Regions from separate parts of the Homo sapiens genome. Here regions 2 and 3 are each linked to region 1. Evidence: promoter capture Hi-C in human tissues and cell types (Jung and others, 2019). All regions are on one chromosome and are shown on one strand. The core of a region is centred on a gene start or on the middle of the fragment in contact, and the rest is flanking DNA. Distances in the headings are between cores, read along the strand shown. Region 1 holds the start of COL6A2 (collagen type VI alpha 2 chain). Region 2 has its middle 26 kb from the start of COL6A1. Region 3 holds the start of SPATC1L (spermatogenesis and centriole associated 1 like).

Region 1 (3,288 bases), core at 328-2,827:
TGTTAATTGGGGTCTTCCAAGAGGCAGGTGCCATGGAAGCTCTGACGTGACTGGAGATTTATCAGTGCAATGTCTGTGAAGGATGCTGGGGGGGTGGCCAAAGAGGACGGAAGCCTCAGACCACAGGTGAGACCCCTGTGAAGGAGATACGGGGAGCCTTGGCCAGCACGTGCCCCTAGACAGTGCTGGCCAGGCCGAGGGAGAACTTCTGGAGCCAAGGTAACCCCTAAAGGATTCTGGTCTTGTGAGGAGGGGCCTGGCTTCCCCCTGGGAGCTGCTGGCTTGGAAGCAGGAGGCATTGCCCAGGTGAGAGTTCGGCATGGACCCAGGGGAGTGGCACACGGTGCCCGCCGTCAGCTGTGCTCAGGAGCAGCAGGCAGGAGCCCTGGACTCATGGCTACCATGTGGCTGCCACACTCAGGCACACTTAGGCACATACACTCACACTCAGGCACACTTAGACACACACATTCACACTCAACCTCAGACGCAGACACACACCACACACTCACAGATGCACACAGTCTCAGACACAGACACACACCACACACAGATACACACACCACAGACTCAAACTCAGTCTCAGACACAGACACACACCACACACTCAGATGCACACACCACACACACTCAGTCTCAGACACACACACACACCACATTTGCAAACCTGCTCATCAGAAGAGGGACCTCGCCCCCAGCCGCTCCGCCACCTTCCAGGACAGCTCTGAAGGGAGCCCTGTCCCGGAGCCCAGGGACCTCTCCCCAACCCGGCTGCGCCTCACCTCAAGGAGGAACCCCGGCCCTGGCTGGGGGACTGTGACCAGGGTGGGGAGTGGGGACCCCAGACAGAGCCCTACCAGGGACCCCTGTCACTCTGTCCCCGGCTGGGCTCAGGTGGGGACCTCACGGTGGTCCCAGGGCCCAGCACCAAGCCCACCTGTGGTTTCCAGCGGGAAAGGGGTGGCAGGGGTGGCTCGCCGCATGCCCAGGCTCTGCCCCAACCTCCGCGCCCAGGCTCTGCTGTCCCTGCCCTCCCGGCTCCCCACCCTCAGGCCCCAGGAGCGGCAGTTTCTGCAGGAGCTCCTGACCCGGGGCCTCTCGCGGGAGGCCTGAGCAAGCCGGACACAGGACACGGGGTAGGGGAGGGGTCGGGGGGCTGATGGGGGGAACCCTGCACCCCCCAGGGCAGCTGCTACCAAGGGGCGAGTCCCAGGGCCCCCGTCGGCCCTGCGTGCGGGGCGCGGTCCCCAACACCCAGGGCCCCGGAGGCGGACACAGCCCCAGCCAGGTCGTCCGGGAAATGGGGCGGGGGCGACGGGCGGCCGGGCCCGGGACGCGAAGTCCGAGCAGCAGCGGGCAGGGGCTGGCGGGGGAGCTCGGCCCGGGCTGCAGGGGGGTCCCCACCCTCTCCACCTCCTCCAGCCTCCCGCCCTCGAGGGTCCCCGCTTCCCTCCCATCCCCCTCCCGTGCCCCCGGCCCCCTCCTCCCATCCGCGGGGCCGCAGCGCTTCCTGGCGGCGGGGCGGGTCAGGCCGGCGGGGCGGGGTATAAAGGGGGCGGCGCCGGCCGCGGTTCCCTCCCTGCTGCTTACTCGGCGCCCGCGCCTCGGGCCGTCGGGAGCGGAGCCTCCTCGGGACCAGGTGAGCGCCTCCCGGACCCCGCACCCTGGAAGCCGCTCGGCCCGCGGGGGGTGACCCCGAGTCCTGGGAAGGCGGCGGCGGCGGCTCCGTCCCTCGGGTCCCCGGGAAGGGGGACTCCAGCCCCAGGGACGGCGGGGGGCTCGGCGGGTTCGGGGCTCCTCCTCGCGGGGCTGGGGCCGCGCCTGCCCCTGTGGCTCCGCGTCTCTGGGTCCGACCCTCGGGCGCGCGACTTGGGGCCACCTCCCCGCGGCCTCCTCTGGGGCGGAGCCGGCCTGGGCGGGGTGGGGGGGTCCCTGTCTGCGCCCGAGCTCGGTGCTGGGACCCCCGCTCCCGAGACGACCCCGGCACCGCACGCCCCGCCAGGCCCCGCGTCTGCGAGCGGTTCGGGTCCGGCTCCGGCCCGCGGGGAAGACGCCCCGGCTGGCTGGGACCTCCGGGGGCGCAGGGCCTCTCCCCGGGCCGGACGGAAGGGGCGGCGGGGCGGGGGGAGGAGGGGCTTTCGGTGCCCGAGGGCGGGACTGGGCGGGGAGGGGACGCGGGTGGCCCCGACGCCCCATCGCTGCGCCCCTCCCGGCCTGGAGCCCACCAGGGCCCCGCCAGGCCCAGGAGAAGCTGCAGACGGAGGCGGCTCCCCAGGGCGGCGGGACCCGGGCTGACAGCGACCCGCAGCCCCTGCCGGGCCGCCCACACCCGCCCTGGGACTCCGCCGGGGCGCTGGTGGAACCGCTGGGCCTGGGTCTCCACTGCTGGCAACCGAACGGATCGGCCCTCTGTGGAGCCGCAGGTGTGCGGGCGAGCGGCGCCCATCCGGGCTGTGCCAGCAGAACCCCGGTGCCCGCGCCTAGGACGCCCCTGGAGAAGGGACCTTCCCTTTGGGGTCGGAACCCAGAAAGGAGGGGCCTGCGATCCGCGGAGCTCCTTGTTCTTGGGATAACACAGCTCTGGCTTGGAGGCCCCCTTGCACTTCGACTCTGGTGATTATTTCAAGAAAGGCCAGACCGGGCACGGTGGCTCACGCCTGTAATCCCAACACTTGGGGAGGCCGAGGCGGGCAGATCACCTGAGGTCAGGAGTTCGAGACCAGCCTGGCCAACAGGGTGAAACCCCGTCTCTACTAAAAATACAAAAAAAAATTAGCCGGGCGTGGTGGCAGGCACCTGTAATCCCAGCTAATCGGGAGGCTGAGGCAGGAGAAAATCACTTGAACCTGGGAGGCGGAGGCTGCAGTGAGCTGAGATCGCGCCACTGCACTCCAGCCTGGGTGAGGGAGCGAGACTGTCTCAAAAAAAAAAAAAAAAAAAAAAAAAAAGGAAAGAAAGGCCCGGTGAGATGCTTTCTCTTAAACACGGCCCTGCACGTTGAGTTGCTGCCTCCTGTGGCCTATTTCACGTTTATGCAAAGTCGGGCGCCTGATGCGGGGCTCACCCGCCACAAGCAGGGGTCCTGGTGCTGCTCATGGAAGGGGCCCTACCCAGCCCGCGGGGCACTGGCTGGGACGGGGCTGCCCAGGTCCGCCCAGGATCCAAACACCCAGCCCCGCCCAGCGGCCCTTCCTGGCCTGCAGTGGAGGCTGTAATGGGCAGGGGTGGTGGGAATCCCAGCTCACAGGGCGCCTGCTCTTAGAAGGGCGGCATCTGGGTCCAGAGGTC
Region 2 (3,288 bases), core at 455-2,954, 90 kb before region 1:
GAGCGGTGGGCGGGGCCCGGGGCAGACGCAGTGAGGCGGTGGGCGGGGCCCGGGGCAGAGGCAGCGGGTGGTGGCCGGGGCCCGGGGCAGACGCAGTGAGGCGGTGGGCGGGGCCCGGGGTAGTCGCAGTAGGTGGTGGGCGGGGCCCGGGGCAGACGCAGTGAGGTGGTGGGCGGGGCCCGGGGCAGACGCAGTGAGGCGGTGGGAGGGGCCCGGGGCAGACGCAGTGAGGCGGTGGGCGGGGCCCGGGTCAGAGGCAACGGGTGGTGGGCGGGGCCCGGGGCAGACGCAGTGAGGCGGTGGGCGGGGCCCGGGGCAGATGCAGTGAGGCGGTGGGCGGGGCCCGGGGCAGATGCAGTGAGGCGGTGGGAGGGGCCCGGGGCAGACGCAGTGAGGCGGTGGGCGGGGCCCGGGGCAGACGCAGTGAGGCGGTGGGCGGGGCCCGGGGCAGACGCAGTGAGGCAGTTGCCAGCCTCTCTCAGCTGCCTCATGGGATTCGCACTGCAGCTGCGGCCCTGGCGCGACAAGGGCTGGACTTGGCCAGCGGGACGGTCCCTCACGGCGCTGAGGCCCACACTCTGCGTGGAGCCTCCCCGTGCCCAGGCTACCCTGCAAGGTCCTCGGAGAGGCTTCCTCCAGCCCCAGCCCCCACACAGCTCCGGCCCAGGCCCGCTCTTCCCCATCCCAGTTGCTTTGCGCTGTATACGGCCAGGTGACCCCGAGCCGGCCCTGAGCCCTCGTCCCGGCTTCCTCCCCTGTAAGCTGGGTGAAGGACTCCATGGCACCCACCTGAGAGGGTTGTGGCGAGGCCCAGGCCCCTCGTGCCCACACGGCCGGCGGCCCATGCCTGGCAGGGGCTGGGAGGAGGCTGGGGCGACCAGAGGGGAGCGGCCTGTCCTGGAGGAGGCCCAGGGACCCTGGTGAGAGGGTCTCTCCCAAGTGCTCTCTATGGGACCCCCTTCCTCTGCGCCCGTCCTTCACGGACCTCTCCGGGTCACCCCTGGGCTGCACACTGGGTTCAGGGGGGCCTTGAGGTGGGGCCCCTGTTCCCAAGTCCCGGCGGGGTTTCTCCTGAACCTCAACCCATCCTCACCTGCGGGCATTCCCATCCCCCAACGCCTGGGTCACCAGGATTCCAGGCAGGAGGGGCGGTGGGGGTTACCAAGGCCCGGGTTGCCATGCAGAACCCCCAGCCACCACGCAGACCCCCACGGGGCCCAGGGAAGCTCCTGGTCTCACACTGCACCTCACACTTCCTGTGGGGGCAGACTCCAAGGTCCCGGCCTCTCATCTTGTAGAAACTGAGGCACAGGAGGGACACACACTCCCACGGCCGGTCACCGTGGCCCCCACACCTCCCACTGGACTGACACCTGGCCAGGCTCCGGACACCCGTGGCACAGCCTCAGCCCCTGCGGCCCCTGCTCCGTGGCCCCCAGGCCCCAGCTCCCATGTGCACGTCCTGCCTCAGGCCTGGAGGCCCCTCGGCCCCAAATAATCAGACAATTCAACAGCAAAACTACTTTTTTCAGGCTGGCAGGACTCTGGGCAACCCCCTGCAACAGCCCCCTGCCCTATCACAGCCACCCTTGCCTCCCAGGCACGGAGACCCCACCATCAGGTCCCAGCCTTGGTTCATCCCCAAGCACCCTGTGTGTTGGGATGGCGATGCTGGCTGAGCCCCTGCATCCCCACTGGAATCCCTTGGGGGCTCTCTGGCCACCCACATCTCTCCCTCTCCTTCCCACTCCTCCCAGGAGCTGGGGCTCCGACACCCTGGGCTTCAGGGTCAGGAGCAAATCAGGCCTGGATGGGCTGGCGCAGGCCAGATCCAACTAGGTCAACCCAAGAGGACCAGCCCAAGGCTCTGGATTTGGTACTAAAACACCTCAGCCAAGGGGCCTTAGGGCTGCTGTGTCCAGTGTGTGCCCAAGACCCTCTTCCTGAAGGGATGTGAGAAGCCACGAATGTGAGTTTCCCCGTGCATTCGGCCATTCTCACACTGCTCTAAAGAACTGCCCAAGACTGGGTGATTTTTTTTGTTTTTTGTTTTTTTTTTTTTTGAGACAGAGTCTTGCTCTGTTGCCCAGGCTGGAGTGCAGTGGCGCGATCTAGGCTCACTGCAAGCTCCGCCTCCCGGGTTCACGCCATTCTCCTGCCTCAGCCTCCCAAGTAGCTGGATTACAGGCGCCCGCCACCATGCCTGGCTAATTTTTTTTTTTTTATTTTTAGTAGAGACAGGGTTTCACCGTGTTAGCCAGGATGGTCTCGATCTCCTGACCTCGTGATCCTCCCACCTCGGCCTCCCAAAGTGCTGGAATTACAGGCGTGAGCCACCGTGCGTGGCCAAGACTGGGTGATTTATAACGAAAAGAGATTCCATTGACTCACAGTTCCAGATGGCTGGGGAGTCCTCAGGAAATTTACAATCACGGCAGAAGGGGAAGCAAACACGTCCTTCTTCACATGGCAGCAGGAGAGAGAAGCATGAAGGAGGAACTTCCAAACACTTATAAAGCCATCAGATCACATGTGAACTCACTCACTATCACAAGGACAGCACGGGGGAGGCCACCCCCGGGATCCAGCCACCTCCCTCCCTCAACACGTGGGGATTACAATTTGAGATGAGATGTGGGTGGGGACACGGAGCCGAACAGTATCACCTGCTTCAAGAAGGGAAGTGCCTTGATCCCTGAACCATCCTCCAAGCTGGTGGCCGCACTGTGCTTCTCACCTGTGGCCTCCCAGGTCAGGAGGAGAGGCTAGGACCCCCTTTTGTTCTGGACGTTCCCCACACAGAACAGCTCAACTTTGAAAAAATAGGAAAGAAACCTTAGCCCATCAGGCCCACACTTGTTCCCAGTTTAGAAAAGTGATGTTTCAGATCATCACACCAAGTCTCCAGATAGGAGGGCAAAGCCAGTCACCCTGATGCTCTGAGTGGTGTTTCAGATCATCACACGAAGTCTCCAGATAGGAGGGCAAAGCCTGTCACCCTGATACTCTGAGTGGTCAGAGACCCCAGTCCTTCCTGGACCATCCACAGCATGGCTCCTTGACTCCTAGGTCAGAGCAGGCTCCTGCCTCTTCCTGGCCCCTCCTGTCCTGGTGCAGGAGGAGCTGGGACCCACTGGCCTCAAGAAGGCAGGGGGTTGGCAGGAGGCACAGAGCCCCGGGATCTCAGGCCTGTCAGGAGGGTCTTCCCCTGCAACCATCAATCCTGATCCAGAACCGTGGGGGCAGTGCCAGGCCTGCGCTCTCTCCTTGGGAGCCTCTGGCTGCAGT
Region 3 (3,288 bases), core at 434-2,933, 86 kb after region 1:
TCGCTCAGGAGCCGGCTCATCAGCTCGCCGCCTTCAGCCATGGCGGGTGCGTCCCTCCTTGTCCCTCACGGCTCCTGCAGCCCCATGGAGGTGGGAGCCCAGAGCCCGCAGGCACCACAGAAACAGCCCAGGCACGGAGTTCCGTAGCCACCACCGCCTTCCACGCCTTGTGATGTCACTGCCCTAGTGATGAGGTGCCCAGCACCCTGCCTGCCCCCGCGATGGCTCATGGCCCCGTTGAGGCAGTGAAGCTGGAGGCCCGTGGCGTGCACAGGCAGCCACTCCCACATTATGACCAGGGCCCGAGAATGCCAAGGACATTAGGCAGCTACGGGATGTAGCGACTGTACTCCAAGAGGGGCGTCCAAGCCACTCCCCATTGAGCGGCCCAGCCAGGGTCGGGTGTCCACCCTGTGTGGTGTCCTCAAGCTGGGTGGGGACGCTGCCTTCACCCGAGTAACATGTGGGCTGCACTTCCCATAGGACCTGCCCAGGACACAGGGTTCCCAGTGCAGCTTCCTGTGGACCCTGGCACCCAGGGCAGCAACTGATGTGCAGGTGTTCATCAGGGTCCGTCCTTGGCACCCACACTTGAGGAGGGAGGGACTGGCAAGGGCAGTGGGAGGAGACCAGCATGTGGGGGAGACCAGCCTGGTGGGGAGACCAGCTTGTGGGGGAGACCAGTCTGCGGGGGAGACCAGCCTGGGGAGGAGACCAGCCTGCAGGGGAGACCAGCTTGCGGGGGAGACCAGCCTGCGGGGGAGACCAGCCTGGGCGGGGAGATCAGCCTGGGGGAGGAGACCAGCCTGGTGAGGAGACCAGCCTGGGGGAGGAGACCAGCCTTGTGGGGGAGACCAGCCTGCGGGGGAGACCAGCCTGGGCGGGGAGATCAGCCTGGGGGAGGAGACCAGCCTGGTGAGGAGACCAGCCTGGGGGAGGAGACCAGCTTGCGGGGGAGACCAGCCTGCGGGGGAGACCAGCCTGGGCGGGGAGATCAGCCTGGGGGAGGAGACCAGCCTGGTGAGGAGACCAGCCTGGGGGAGGAGACCAGCTTGCGGGGGAGACCAGCCTGCGGGGGAGACCAGCCTGGGCGGGGAGATCAGCCTGGGGGAGGAGACCAGCCTGGTGAGGAGACCAGCCTGGGGGAGGAGACCAGCCTTGTGGGGGAGACCAGCCTGGGGGAGGAGACCAGTCTTGCGGGGGAGACCAGCCTAGGGTGGGGAGACCAGCCTGAGGCAGCCCCACGATGGCCCCCACATGCTTTGGAGCACTGGGTGGCCCTGAGGGCTGGGCTGGAGGCCACCTACTGACCTCACTCCCTGATGAGAAGGGTCCAGCAGTGCATGTCCACCCCTCAGACCACGAGCGCCCGTGTCTAAGACACCAATTGTTCCTGACTGCACTGCTCCTGCCTGCACGTAACTGAGGACGCCCCCAACCCATGGCCACGGCCCCTCGGGCCGTCACACAGGGCTGCGGCTCATGGGGCCCTGCTAGAGCAGGCGTCTGTCCTCAGTCAGTGCGACCGACTTGAAACCCACCCTGACTCCCTGCTTCAATTACTTGGGAAAGTAAATCACCTCAGTGTTGTTTCTTGGCTCCGAGGGTCTTGTTTTATCAGCAGCCGGGATGCAACAGATGGGTCATCTCATCCTCATGGGAAGGGACGTACGGCAGAAAGCACAACCCAGTGGGCCGGCCACACCTCCAGCCCTGTGACGGGCACCCACCACCACCAACCCAGTGGGCCGGCCACACCTCCAGCCCTGTGACGGGCACCCACCACCACCAACCCAGTGGGCCGGCCACACCTCCAGCCCTGTGACGGGCACCCACCACCACCAACCCAGTGGGCCGGCCACACCTCCAGCCCTGTGACGGGCACCCACCACCACCAACCCAGTGGGCCGGCCACACCTCCAGCCCTGTGATGGGCACCCACCACCACCACCATCCCAGTGGGCCGGCCACACCTCCAGCCCTGTGACGGGCACTCAGGACCACCAAGGGCACTCAGGTGCAGATGCCCCTGGGAGAACACCACCTTCATTCAGCCCGGGCGGCCAGATTAGGGGAAGGTTGCTTCTAGGAGAGAAAGTCTTGAGTCAGGCTTTGTGGAGAAAGGAGGTTTCTACACCCCAAGCGTTCCTGACACAACCCAACCAGCCTGGTGTTGCACCACAGGGCTCACACCTCAGATCAAGACAACGGGGGCCCAGCCACAGCCCACTGACGAGGGCATGCAGGGCGTCCAGGATGCAGGGCAGAGAGAGAAGCGAGGGATGAGTCACGGATGCGCCCCCCGCTCTGAGCCCGACGGGGCCCTGAATGGCTTTTCCTGCCCTGGCTCCTCCCATCATATTTTAAATGCCGTCTTCCTCCCGCTCCAAGGAAACCTTCTCTTGACGTCAGGTACTCTCCAGCCACGGACCTATCAACATTCTGACAGTTTTCTGGTCTTGACACATTATCCTTTTAATATAGCGCTGGATTCAATTTATTAATATTTTAAGTATTTTTATGCTCACAGGGGAAGTCGATCTGAATCTCCTTTTCTTGTGATGTCTCGGTCTGGCTTTGGAACACTGGCCTTTTAAAATGAGCCGCAGAGATTCTGCGCCATTTTCTGGGTGTTCCTTCTTAAACGTCGGATAGAATTCATCTGTGAAGCTATCTAGAACTAGATTTCTTCTGGAAAAGTTTTAAATTTCTAAATCAATTTCTTAAATAGATACAACGCTACTTATATTTTATATTTTTCCCTCATGTGCGTTTTGCTGACAATTGTGGCTGTCAGGTAGTTTGTTGATAATAGGGGAGGCTGTGCATTTGTTGGGGCAGCGAGTGGGGAAATCTCTCTATCTTCCTCTCAATTTTGCTAAGAACCTAAAACTCCTCTTAAAAAAGTCTTGAAAAAGACAAAAGCACGAAGGAAACCAGAGAATATTTCAAGTTGAATGAGAATAAAAACATGACATTAGAATTTGTGGGGTGTAGTTAAAGCTTGATGCCCGTGCTCCACAACCACAGGAAATGGACAAACCCTACCAAAGTTATCAAAAGAGAAGGACACCCCATCTGTAGAAAACAGTCAGAAGATTAGGCAGATGTGGTGGTGCGTGTCTGTTGTCCCAGCTACTCGGAACACTGAGGTGGGAGGATTGCTTGAGCCTGGGAGGTCGAGGCTACAGTGAACTGTGGTTGCGCGGCTGTGCTCTAACTTGCGTGACAAAGTGAGACCCTGTCTCAATAAAATACTTTAATTAATGAAACTGAAACTTTCTGCTC

Evidence for each region. Contacts are between HindIII fragments. The study calls those that stand out against the background at their distance.
Region 2: a fragment that was not itself captured here is called in contact with the fragment with the promoter of COL6A2 in region 1 in 7 of the 25 tissues and cell types used here (H1 embryonic stem cells, IMR-90 fibroblasts, heart left ventricle and 4 more).
Region 3: a contact is called between the fragment with the promoter of SPATC1L here and the fragment with the promoter of COL6A2 in region 1, in 3 of the 25 tissues and cell types used here (heart left ventricle, mesendoderm cells and thymus).

What each region holds. Positions count from the first base shown.
Region 1 is chr21:46,096,535-46,099,822 of GRCh38, forward strand. It overlaps COL6A2 (collagen type VI alpha 2 chain), which reads left to right and starts at 1,578. Exons shown (of 28, transcript NM_001849.4): 1 at 1,578-1,639. COL6A2-DT (COL6A2 divergent transcript) reads right to left here and starts at 1,111. Exons shown (of 2, transcript NR_186433.1): 1 at 938-1,111. RefSeq lists an enhancer at 1,401-1,695. The HindIII fragment of the contact is 26,496 bases long and covers 1-3,288 here.
Region 2 is chr21:46,005,968-46,009,255 of GRCh38, forward strand. No RefSeq gene overlaps it. Among named protein-coding and RNA genes, the nearest start is that of COL6A1, 26 kb to the left of the region's middle. The HindIII fragment of the contact is 9,300 bases long and covers 1-3,288 here.
Region 3 is chr21:46,182,776-46,186,063 of GRCh38, forward strand. It overlaps SPATC1L (spermatogenesis and centriole associated 1 like), which reads right to left and starts at 1,684. Exons shown (of 5, transcript NM_001142854.2): 1 at 1,581-1,684; 2 at 1-999. The coding sequence starts at 41. It overlaps LOC124905045 (a long non-coding RNA gene), which reads left to right and starts at 1,772. Exons shown (of 2, transcript XR_007067914.1): 1 at 1,772-2,412. RefSeq lists enhancers at 1-349, 350-953. The HindIII fragment of the contact is 12,071 bases long and covers 1-3,288 here.